Linked DNA regions of Homo sapiens: regions 2 and 3 are each linked to region 1. Evidence: promoter capture Hi-C in human tissues and cell types (Jung and others, 2019). All regions are on one chromosome and are shown on one strand. Each heading gives the region's core, a stretch centred on a gene start or on the middle of the fragment in contact. The rest is flanking DNA. Distances are from core to core; before and after follow the strand shown.

What was found. The method cuts DNA at HindIII sites, captures the fragments that hold promoters and counts their contacts. A contact is called where the count stands out against the background at its distance.
Region 2: a fragment that was not itself captured here is called in contact with the fragment with the promoter of RCAN2 in region 1 in 1 of the 25 tissues and cell types used here (hippocampus).
Region 3: a contact is called between a fragment that was not itself captured here and the fragment with the promoter of RCAN2 in region 1, in 1 of the 25 tissues and cell types used here (psoas muscle).

The regions. Positions count from the first base shown.
Region 1 is chr6:46,489,930-46,492,930 of GRCh38, reverse strand. RCAN2 (regulator of calcineurin 2) reads left to right here and starts at 1,482. Exons shown (of 5, transcript NM_001251974.2): 1 at 1,482-1,758. RCAN2-DT (RCAN2 divergent transcript) reads right to left here and starts at 879. Exons shown (of 3, transcript NR_125837.1): 1 at 804-879. RefSeq lists silencers at 860-919, 1,430-1,519. The HindIII fragment of the contact is 8,830 bases long and covers 1-3,001 here.
Region 2 is chr6:46,639,803-46,642,942 of GRCh38, reverse strand. It overlaps CYP39A1 (cytochrome P450 family 39 subfamily A member 1), which reads left to right. Exons shown (of 12, transcript NM_016593.5): 2 at 645-780. Among named protein-coding and RNA genes, the nearest start is that of CYP39A1, 11 kb to the left of the region's middle. The HindIII fragment of the contact is 6,673 bases long and covers 1-3,140 here.
Region 3 is chr6:46,667,396-46,670,155 of GRCh38, reverse strand. SLC25A27 (solute carrier family 25 member 27) reads right to left here. Exons shown (of 9, transcript NM_004277.5): 6 at 1,363-1,447; 7 at 1-21. Among named protein-coding and RNA genes, the nearest start is that of SLC25A27, 16 kb to the right of the region's middle. The HindIII fragment of the contact is 7,013 bases long and covers 1-2,760 here.

The DNA.
Region 1 (3,001 bases), core at 233-2,732:
AAGGGGATCCTGGAGTGCATTAGACATGCTAGCTATTTTTACATATTTTAAAGATAGTTAGAAGAGGAATTTGACTTGGTTTCTTTGGCTTCAAAAAGTAAGGGAGAACTAATGATTAAAGGGAGGCAAGTTTTTGCTCAACTTAAGAATGCCCTTTCAGACAATTCTAACCCAAATGGCAATTATCTAAATCAACGACTAATTACAGATTTATGCATCCAGGGGAAGGCTGAACGAGGGGAAGCCTAAGGTCATTTTCAATTCTGAAATTGTGTTTATGTTAATGCAGATTAATCAGAGAGAAGAGCCAACGTCTCGTCTACCTTTTTTTGTTGAAAACAAACAAAACGTGATTGTATGTCAACTTTGGAAAAAAACAACGTAGTGTGGGTAAGTGAAGAATGATTGTGAATGGACTGCTTCAGTGCAATCGTAATATTGTTATCAGAAAATCAAAAGGCATAAAAAGCAAAAAGAAAACGGCTTATTTATGCAGCAATTCGAAAGATGACAGAACACAAACCTGATTTAAATGTTATTCACTCCCTCCCTCAGATTGGTCTGCACACCTCCTTCCTTTAATTTCCCGCACTCTCCTATGATCTTTTGCATAATTCACATTCTCTTGCCATGAGACTCAGTCCTGTTCCTATCTGTGCCACCCGTAAGCCACAGGCTTCCTTACCCATTTGAGTTGCTTTATTCCGTAAAGCAGAGACTTCTACTGGGGTTAACTTTGTTGAGCAACAGATCTACCCTAGATTGCGATTCACCTTCAGTCCCGTTTGCTGTAGGATACCAACCTCCCACTCACTGTGTCATGGCTCTCACACAATAGGATTCCTTGCAGCCCGAACCCTTCTGTCCTCAGGTCTGATGGCTGCAAATCCTGGCAAAGCTGTGAAGCCCGCGCAGGGCACCCTCAGCGGCCTGGGCTGGGCCGGGCGCAGGGCTCCAGCCAGAGGGCGCCAGCGCCCACCAAGCGCAGAAGCCCGGGAGGACCATCCAGGGGCTCCCCGACATTTCCTCAGTTAGCCAGAGTCGGGGGGCTCAGACATCTGGTAAGAAGAGTCTTTCTCCCAGTACTCCCCCACCACAGTTTGCTTCTCTGACCATTTCTTCTGGGCTGTCGCTGCCCCCTCACCCTCAGCTTAGTATGGGACCCCGAGGAGCCTCTTCCCGCTGAGGCCGGGACTCCTGCAGCCAGGCTCCCACGCCAGGTGCCCGGAGGCTCCTGCGCCCTCCCGGGCACCTGAAGTGGAAAGGAGGGGGTGCGGGGCTGAGGGCAGGGTGAGAGCCCCGGAGGTGCGGTGGGTAGGGGACTGGGGAGGGCGCCGGGTCAGGAGGGAGGAGATGAGAAGAGGCCAGACAGGGGCTTTCGGTTTCCCTGGGTCTGATTGGAGGTTGGCCCGATGAGTCGGAGCTGGGGACGCGCCCATCTCCGCCGGCTCCTGCGAGAGCCGCCGGCTCAGCCCCTCCCTGGAGCCGCTTTGTCCCGGGTGACGGCGGCGGAGGTTGCGGGGAGGAGCGGGCAGCAGGCAGAATCCCACTGACCCACGGCGGCAGAGAGAGGGAGGCGGGGCGCGCCGCGCCGCGTACGGCCCCACGCAAAGGCCCGCGGGCACCGCGCCGCCCCCACGCGCTCGCACCGGCGGGCAGGTGAGCAGGCAGCGCCGCGCGCTAGCAGCTGGCCCCCGTAGACGCCCCAGCCGCCGCCTCCGCCTCCGCCTCCGCCGGCGCATCGCGGACGCCCAGCAGGTCGGTTATGTAACCGCGCCGGCCAGGCTCGCCCAGGCACCCCGTCCCGCCGGGGCTGACAGCAGCCCCGGGGTCGTGCCGGGGGTCCGCGGCGGGGATCTGGTCTCCGGGCCGGGTCTGGGTGCAGGGCGGGGGCGGGGGCGGGGGCGGGGGCGGTGGCGGGGGTGGGGGCAGTGGCGGGGGTGGGGTTTGTCTCCAGATCTGTGGTCAGTCCCGGCTGCGGCCGTGGGGACGGAGATCTCCCGCGACCCCCCTCTAGGGGGCGCGGGTCCAAAGGAGCCCCTTCCCCACTGCCCGTGGCCCGGGGGTTTGCCTTCCTGGAAGCAGCAGCAGGTGCATAAGTGAAGGAGCGAGGATGACGCCTGTGATCCCCGGGACTGAGGCTTAGAGAGGGTCTAGAAGAGACTAACTGGATGCAGAGAGCAAAGAAGATCGAGAGATCCCTTCTTCCCAATGCAGAGGCTGGGGAGGGGGTAGGTGCACTGAGGTGCAGCGGGCTGAGAATTGTCCTGCTTGGGATTAGCGGCCTTGGGTCATCTAAAAATAACTTCAAGTTTGAAAAGTGAAATGGAGCGGAGCGCAGTGTGCCGGGTTCGTCCTGCCTGTGGGATGCTTCGCTCCAGAAGTCACCAGAGGGAACAGGCAAATCCCAGCCGCCTGATCCCTCGGCCGCCTCCAGGTCTCGCTGGTTTCCAGGGTGCCTCGGTTTGCCTTTTAGTTAATGATTTATTCTTCGAGGTACTTCTGCCTATTTCTTATCCCAAAATGAATTATAGCAGAATGCATGCTTTGAATCTTTCCTGTTTCTTACAATGGGATAGAGGTGTTCAACTGCCAAATGAAGTTTTTTTAAGTCTCAGTTTAGTAAAAACAAAAGTTTCTGGGGTTCCTTTAATATGCATTCCCACAGTTTTCCACAATTGGAGATGAAGGGATGTCACAGCATTCCAGCTCACACTTCTCTCTCCCTTCAGCCAGAATTTCACTCAACTTATCATGCAGAGGGGAGGCTTTAGGAAATGTAGGACAACTTTAACAGTGCAACTCAAGTTTCACACCTTTGTTATCCTTTATTACATCACTTCAAAACGAAGAACAAATGTACCACAAGGTACCACGCAACACTTGCTAACCGGCCTCTGCATTCTGGGGGCACAGTGAAGTTGGAAATACCCAAAAGCTGGAAAGGATCAAGAGGCAGGTCAGCATTGACTGTCAACTAGGCAGGAGAGTGAGCATTTGG
Region 2 (3,140 bases), core at 352-2,851, 150 kb before region 1:
GAGGGAACGCATGGAGAATGGGTGCAAATGTATATACCTTGCAGGATTTAGTAGCGAGAAACTGAGACCGCTACTTGATTGCTCCATTTTTCTAGTGAGTTACAAGGCAGGGACACTATGTCAGAATGGAGAGGTTGGGCAGGTTGTACAGGTGAAATAATCATTTTGAAAACTAGGAAAGTGAACAGATTAGAAAAGTGTATAGGATTGCAAGACATTGTTGAATAACCATGGATTTCCCATAAACCAGTTGGCAATTTTGAACCTTTTTGTTGAACAATATTCAGCTATAGGTTGCTTATAAGTCTACCAATATCTTGAAAACAATGTTTAAATGTCACAATGTTGATATAATTTCTAATTATTTATAATTATTATTTTCTACTTATTTCATAGTACAAGAAAAGAAGCTATAAATAGGCAATAAAATGATCAAAGGGAATATTACATATTAGGACAGAACAAATTAAAATGTATATAATTCAGATCTGGCTGAAACAATCAAAATTTATAACTAATTGCCAAATATAATCATAATAATTTTTCTTTTGACTATAACTTCAGCATTAGGATTCTTGAGGAGAATGGTCTTAAACATGGCTTAGGAATGCTTACTAATATAATCTATGTTTGTTTTATTTCAGTATGGACCAATATTTACAGTCTTTGCTATGGGAAACCGAATGACCTTTGTTACTGAAGAAGAAGGAATTAATGTGTTTCTAAAATCCAAAAAAGTAGATTTTGAACTAGCAGTGCAAAATATCGTTTATCGTACAGGTAAAGAATATTTTCAGATAGTCCATTCGAAATCCAACATTGGAATCCAGGAGTAGTTTTAGGTAAAAATTACATCCTCATTCCTCTATCAAGAATGATGAGGGTCCATTATTTTATTCTTGAGGTATGGGTAGAAGAGGAAAGAGTTATGGGTAGAATAGTTTGGCCATTGAAATGCAAATGAATGGCAGCCTAATACATTTAGATTTGAATTAGACACGTGAAAGTGATAAGGTTACCTCATTGATGTTTTCTTTAGAGAATATTTGGAATCTGTATCATGTTACAGCTTCCAAGATGTCACTAACTCTGTTCCACTGCTGTGTATACAGTGTTCTACAGGGTACAGCTCTTGGACTGGTTACATGTTACTCAGTCCCTGAAACTAGAATTCCATGGCTTAGTAAATCCTTTACAGTGGCATTTCCTGACAAATTTTATAGGGCTGTTATGGTCAATGGGAGCTTGACTTGCCCTTTCACAAATCCTCCATCTTCAGAGACTACCAGATTGTACAGTCAGCATGCTTCCAGTATGGCTGTCTGCCTTCATTTCTTCCTAGGCTGCAATTGTGTGTACTGGGGCCATGTGTCCTCCCTGGAACGCAGAGCTGGTTCAATTTGTGTCTGGTTCTTTTTTGTGCTTTCACAATGTTTTTGCTTGCTTCTATTCTCTGTGGCTTCTTTCTCTCTGTTTCCCTTTTTTCTTCTTTGGTTCCTTTTCATGTAACCTTTTGTGCATTTCTTGCCATTAAGACAAGAAAGTTTGTTTTAAAAGCTACCAGTAATCAATAGAATTATATATATTTTTTCTTCTTGTATGCATGATCATCACAACCTGTTGGTGAAATTATTTGATTATTTAGTGCTTCTTGATACTTGGACTATGGAATTTTAGATCAAATAATATAAATATTTTGAAGGCCTTTGATCTGTAGAGTCGCGTATCCCTTCAGAAAAATTTACTAAGTTACCTATCAGAGGTGTATGGAAATGATTGAGTTTTTTTCACCTGAGCCTCCTCTGGGGACTTTCATGTTTAAATATTTCATTGAACAGATGAAATATATTAATATTTATTCTTGAGTCAGCTTCCCATCCCTCCCATATAGTAGATGTATGCTACTATACATACAGAAGATGTATAGTAGCATACTATACATACCAGCATAGTATATGTATAGTAGCATAGTATACATACTATACTGGTATGGTAACATAGAGAAGATGTATGCTCAGGAAATCTAAAAACTGTTTTTCATTAACTTACACAAAATGTATCTTACACGTAATAGGATGACGAAATACAAAATTAAAACTTATTCTTTGAAAAAGTTACTTCAATAAAATGACAACAATGGACACAGGGGACTACTAGAGGGAGGGGGGTGGGCGGCAGGGGGCAAAGGTTGAAAAACTAACTATTGAGTACTGTGCTCATTACCTGAGTGATGGGATTAATCATGCCCCAAACCTCAGCATAACACAATATACTTGTATAACAAACCTGCACATGTACCCTTTGAATCTAAAATAAAATTCAAAATTTTTTTAAAACAGAAAAAGTTACTTCAAGGTCAATAAAACAAGATAAAATAAAAATATAAAGAAATGAGTAAACAATAAACCACAATTTCTAATTAGGAATGTGTGTTATAGAAGGAGCACGAATACTAACATAAAGAAAATAGTGGGCTCAAAGCTATTCATGGGGTTAGGAAAGGCCTCCTGGTGGAAGTAGTGTTCAAGAAGACACTTGAAGGACAAATAGAAATTTGCAGGAGAAGTTTGAGGCTCATAGGTATAAGTGTGTGGGATTGGGTGGGAGTAGATATGGGTATAATAAAGGAGAGAACATTCTGAGCAGACAGAACAGCCTCTGAAATGCTGGGATATGTAAAATATGTTTTTAATGTATCTGGACTGTAGATTTTGAGGGAGAAGGGCTGAAAATACCAGCTCTCTTAATCACCCATTTATAGATTATCCCTTAAAGTGAATAGATTTCCATCATCTCACAGAATACGTTGAATCTTTTTTATTTGTTTGTTTTGAGATAAAGTCTCTCTCTGTCACCCAGGCTGGAGTGCAGTGGTGTGATGTTGGCTCACTGCGACTCCAACTCCTGGGTTCAAGCGATTCTTCTGCCTCAGCCTCCCCAGTAGCTGGGATTACAGGTGCCCGCCACAGCCGGCTAATTTTCCTATTTTTAGTAGAGACAGGGTTTCACCATGTTGGTCAGGCTGGTCTGGAACTTCTGACCTCAAGTGATCCACCTGCCTTGTTCTCCCAAAGTTCTGGGATTACAGTTGTGAGCCACCACACTCAGTCGAGAATAGGTTGAATCTTTATCTACTTTTA
Region 3 (2,760 bases), core at 237-2,736, 180 kb before region 1:
GCTACCAGTCCAGAACATAAACTATAAATACAAATAAATGAAATTGAAAGATGGTATGTAGTAGTTTGTAGCTTAGGAAAGGGAATGTGGTATTCAGAAAGAATATAATACTAAATATATTCTTACAAGCTTCATAATGCTCTTTTTGCTTAAAATTAATGCTAAATTAATTAAAGAGGTAGAAAAACAACAAAAAGAATGTCAGTCAACAAACAGGCATTGTGCACCTGCTGGTGTCAAGCATTCTTCTAGGCAGTGAACAAGACAGGTAAGACCCTGCCCTTGAGGAGCTTATACTTCACTTGGGAAAAGGCAGAAGTCAAATAAATAATTTCAGAAGCTGACAAAAGCTATGAAAAAAACATGGGGAAGTGTGACAGGGAGCAACTGGGTGACAGGCAGTCAGGGAAAGCTCCGGGGGTGACAGCAGAATTGAGTGGTTACAAAGGACACATGTATATGAAGACCTGAAGGAAGAATGTTACAAGAAGATAGAACAGTACATGCAAAAGCCGAGTCAGTAATACTCTTGGAGTGGTTAAATTCACATGCGTGTGTGCATGCGCGTGCACACACACACCCCTACCTCCAAATATTTGACTTGACACTATTACACTTTTAGGGTTGTCTACTTTTAGGGTCATCTAAATAGCATAGGAAGTTTTAGAATTTGGAAACGATCAGAAGCTAAATGAAATCACTATAATGTCAAGGACAGTAGACATCTATAAAATAAGTCATTCTAATGGATAATTTGAAATTGTGTTGCAAAGAGATCAAGGTACTGCTCCTTCCTGGAAAGCCCTTCGTATCCCTTTCTGTGAAGAGTCACAGCCTTTGAAAACCCTTGTCTATTTCTACCTCCTTTGTGGATCCTTCCAAGTGGTTATGTTTTTTCCTTCCCCTGAACCCTGTAGTAACTAGTTGCTTCCTTTTAGCATTTCCTGTAGAGTGTTTTTATATTTGTCTTGTTTTCCTGGTTGGTAAGTTCCCTGGGTAGGAATTGAGTTTACCCCTTTGGTGCCCACTGCAGAGCCCTGCCCAGTGCCTTTAACATAAAAGGCACTCAAACATATCTGTTGAAATGAGTTGGAGAGTCCATCATCATAGCCTGTTCCTGGGATGGCCCCATCAAGATGCAAATATTTTGAGAGGTTTAATCCAAAACATCCTACAACTTTGTCTGTCTCTTCCCCATTCTAACTGCAAGAAACTTTAAGAAATTTCTCTTTATAAATGTACTCTTCTCTAAAGGTGATGCCAGTACAATCCCAATCAAATGAGCCTAAAGAATTTATGTCAAATATGGAAGAAAAAGTGATACAAAAAAAAAAAACAGAGTCCAACTAAAACAATCCTTACCTTGATAAACCGTGAGTCATGATATTGTCCTCAAGTGGTGTATTCAATACCAAGTAGTGTTTCACTGTATCATAAGTGGTTAAATCTGGCAATGGAAAAAGTTTAAATATTCATCAGTCAACAGTGAATGTCTTTTGTGTCAAGAATATGCTAGGCTTGGGGCAGGAATGTGTACCAGGATGAAAGCTACCAAGGAATCCTTCTTGTTCTCAAGGAAAGCACAGCTACAGATAGAGGGAGAGAAAAAGAAGAAGAGACAGAAAGTCAAATGTATCATTTAGACTCCTTAATCTAGCTATGCCTAAATTCAGCTCAACCCCTGGGCCTTTCAGTATTTGAGCCAATAAATTACTTTTTTAGCCAAAAAAGTAATTTGATCAAGTAATTTGAATTGAGATCCTGTCACTTATAAATAAAAGGTCCTGACTATTATTCTACATTAAGCATTTTATACATTTTCAAGACAGGGTCTCTGTCACACAGGCTTGAGTGCAGTGGCGTGATCGCGGCTCACTGCAACCTCCGCCTCCTGGGCTCAAGTGATTCTTGTGCCTCAGCCTCCCAAGTAGCTAGGATTACAGGTGTGCATCTGGCTAATTTTTCAATATTTTTGTAGAGATGGGGTTTTACTATATTACCCAGGCTGGTCTCCAACTCCGGAGCTCAAGAGATCTGCTCACCTCAACCTCCCAAAGTGCTGGGATTATAGGCATGAGCCGCCGCGCCTGGCCCTTTTATACATTTTTCTAATGGCAATGAAGAGCTATGGAAGGGTTTTAAATAGGAGAATGACATCACAATGCTAGAGTTATATAAAGTTAACCCACACTAAAGTATGGGGAAGTAAGTTGTAATGAGGCAAGAATGGATAGGTACATTTGATCACATTGGGGGAAACAGCCATGGACAAAATGAACAAAAATCCTTGCTCTCTGTTGTGGGATGAGACAATAAAGTAAACTACATGGTGTTTCAGATGCACTTGCTCTTGAAGTAAATGCCCTGAAGACAAAGAAGGTAAGGAAAGGGGACAGAGAGTACCAGAGGGTAGGGAGGAATAGTTTCTATTAATTTTAAATTGGGTGATCAGGCAAGACCTCTTGATAAGTGGACATTTGAACAGAGACCAAAAGAAAGCATGAGAAAACAACCCTGTAGATAGCTAAGAGAAATTGCCCCAGGCAAAAATACAGTATGTTTTCTAACCCTGAGTCAGGAGTCAGCTTGCTGTGTTAGAGGAACAGCCAGAAGACTGGGCCGGCAGCAGCAGAATATGCAAGAAGTAGCAGAGTCTAGATGATGAAGAGCAGAAGCCAGGGGAGGCTTTTGAGCAGAGGAGTGACTGCCCAAGGTTACTATTTAGAACTTAATAGAACTATCGAGTTCTTACTGGAACTT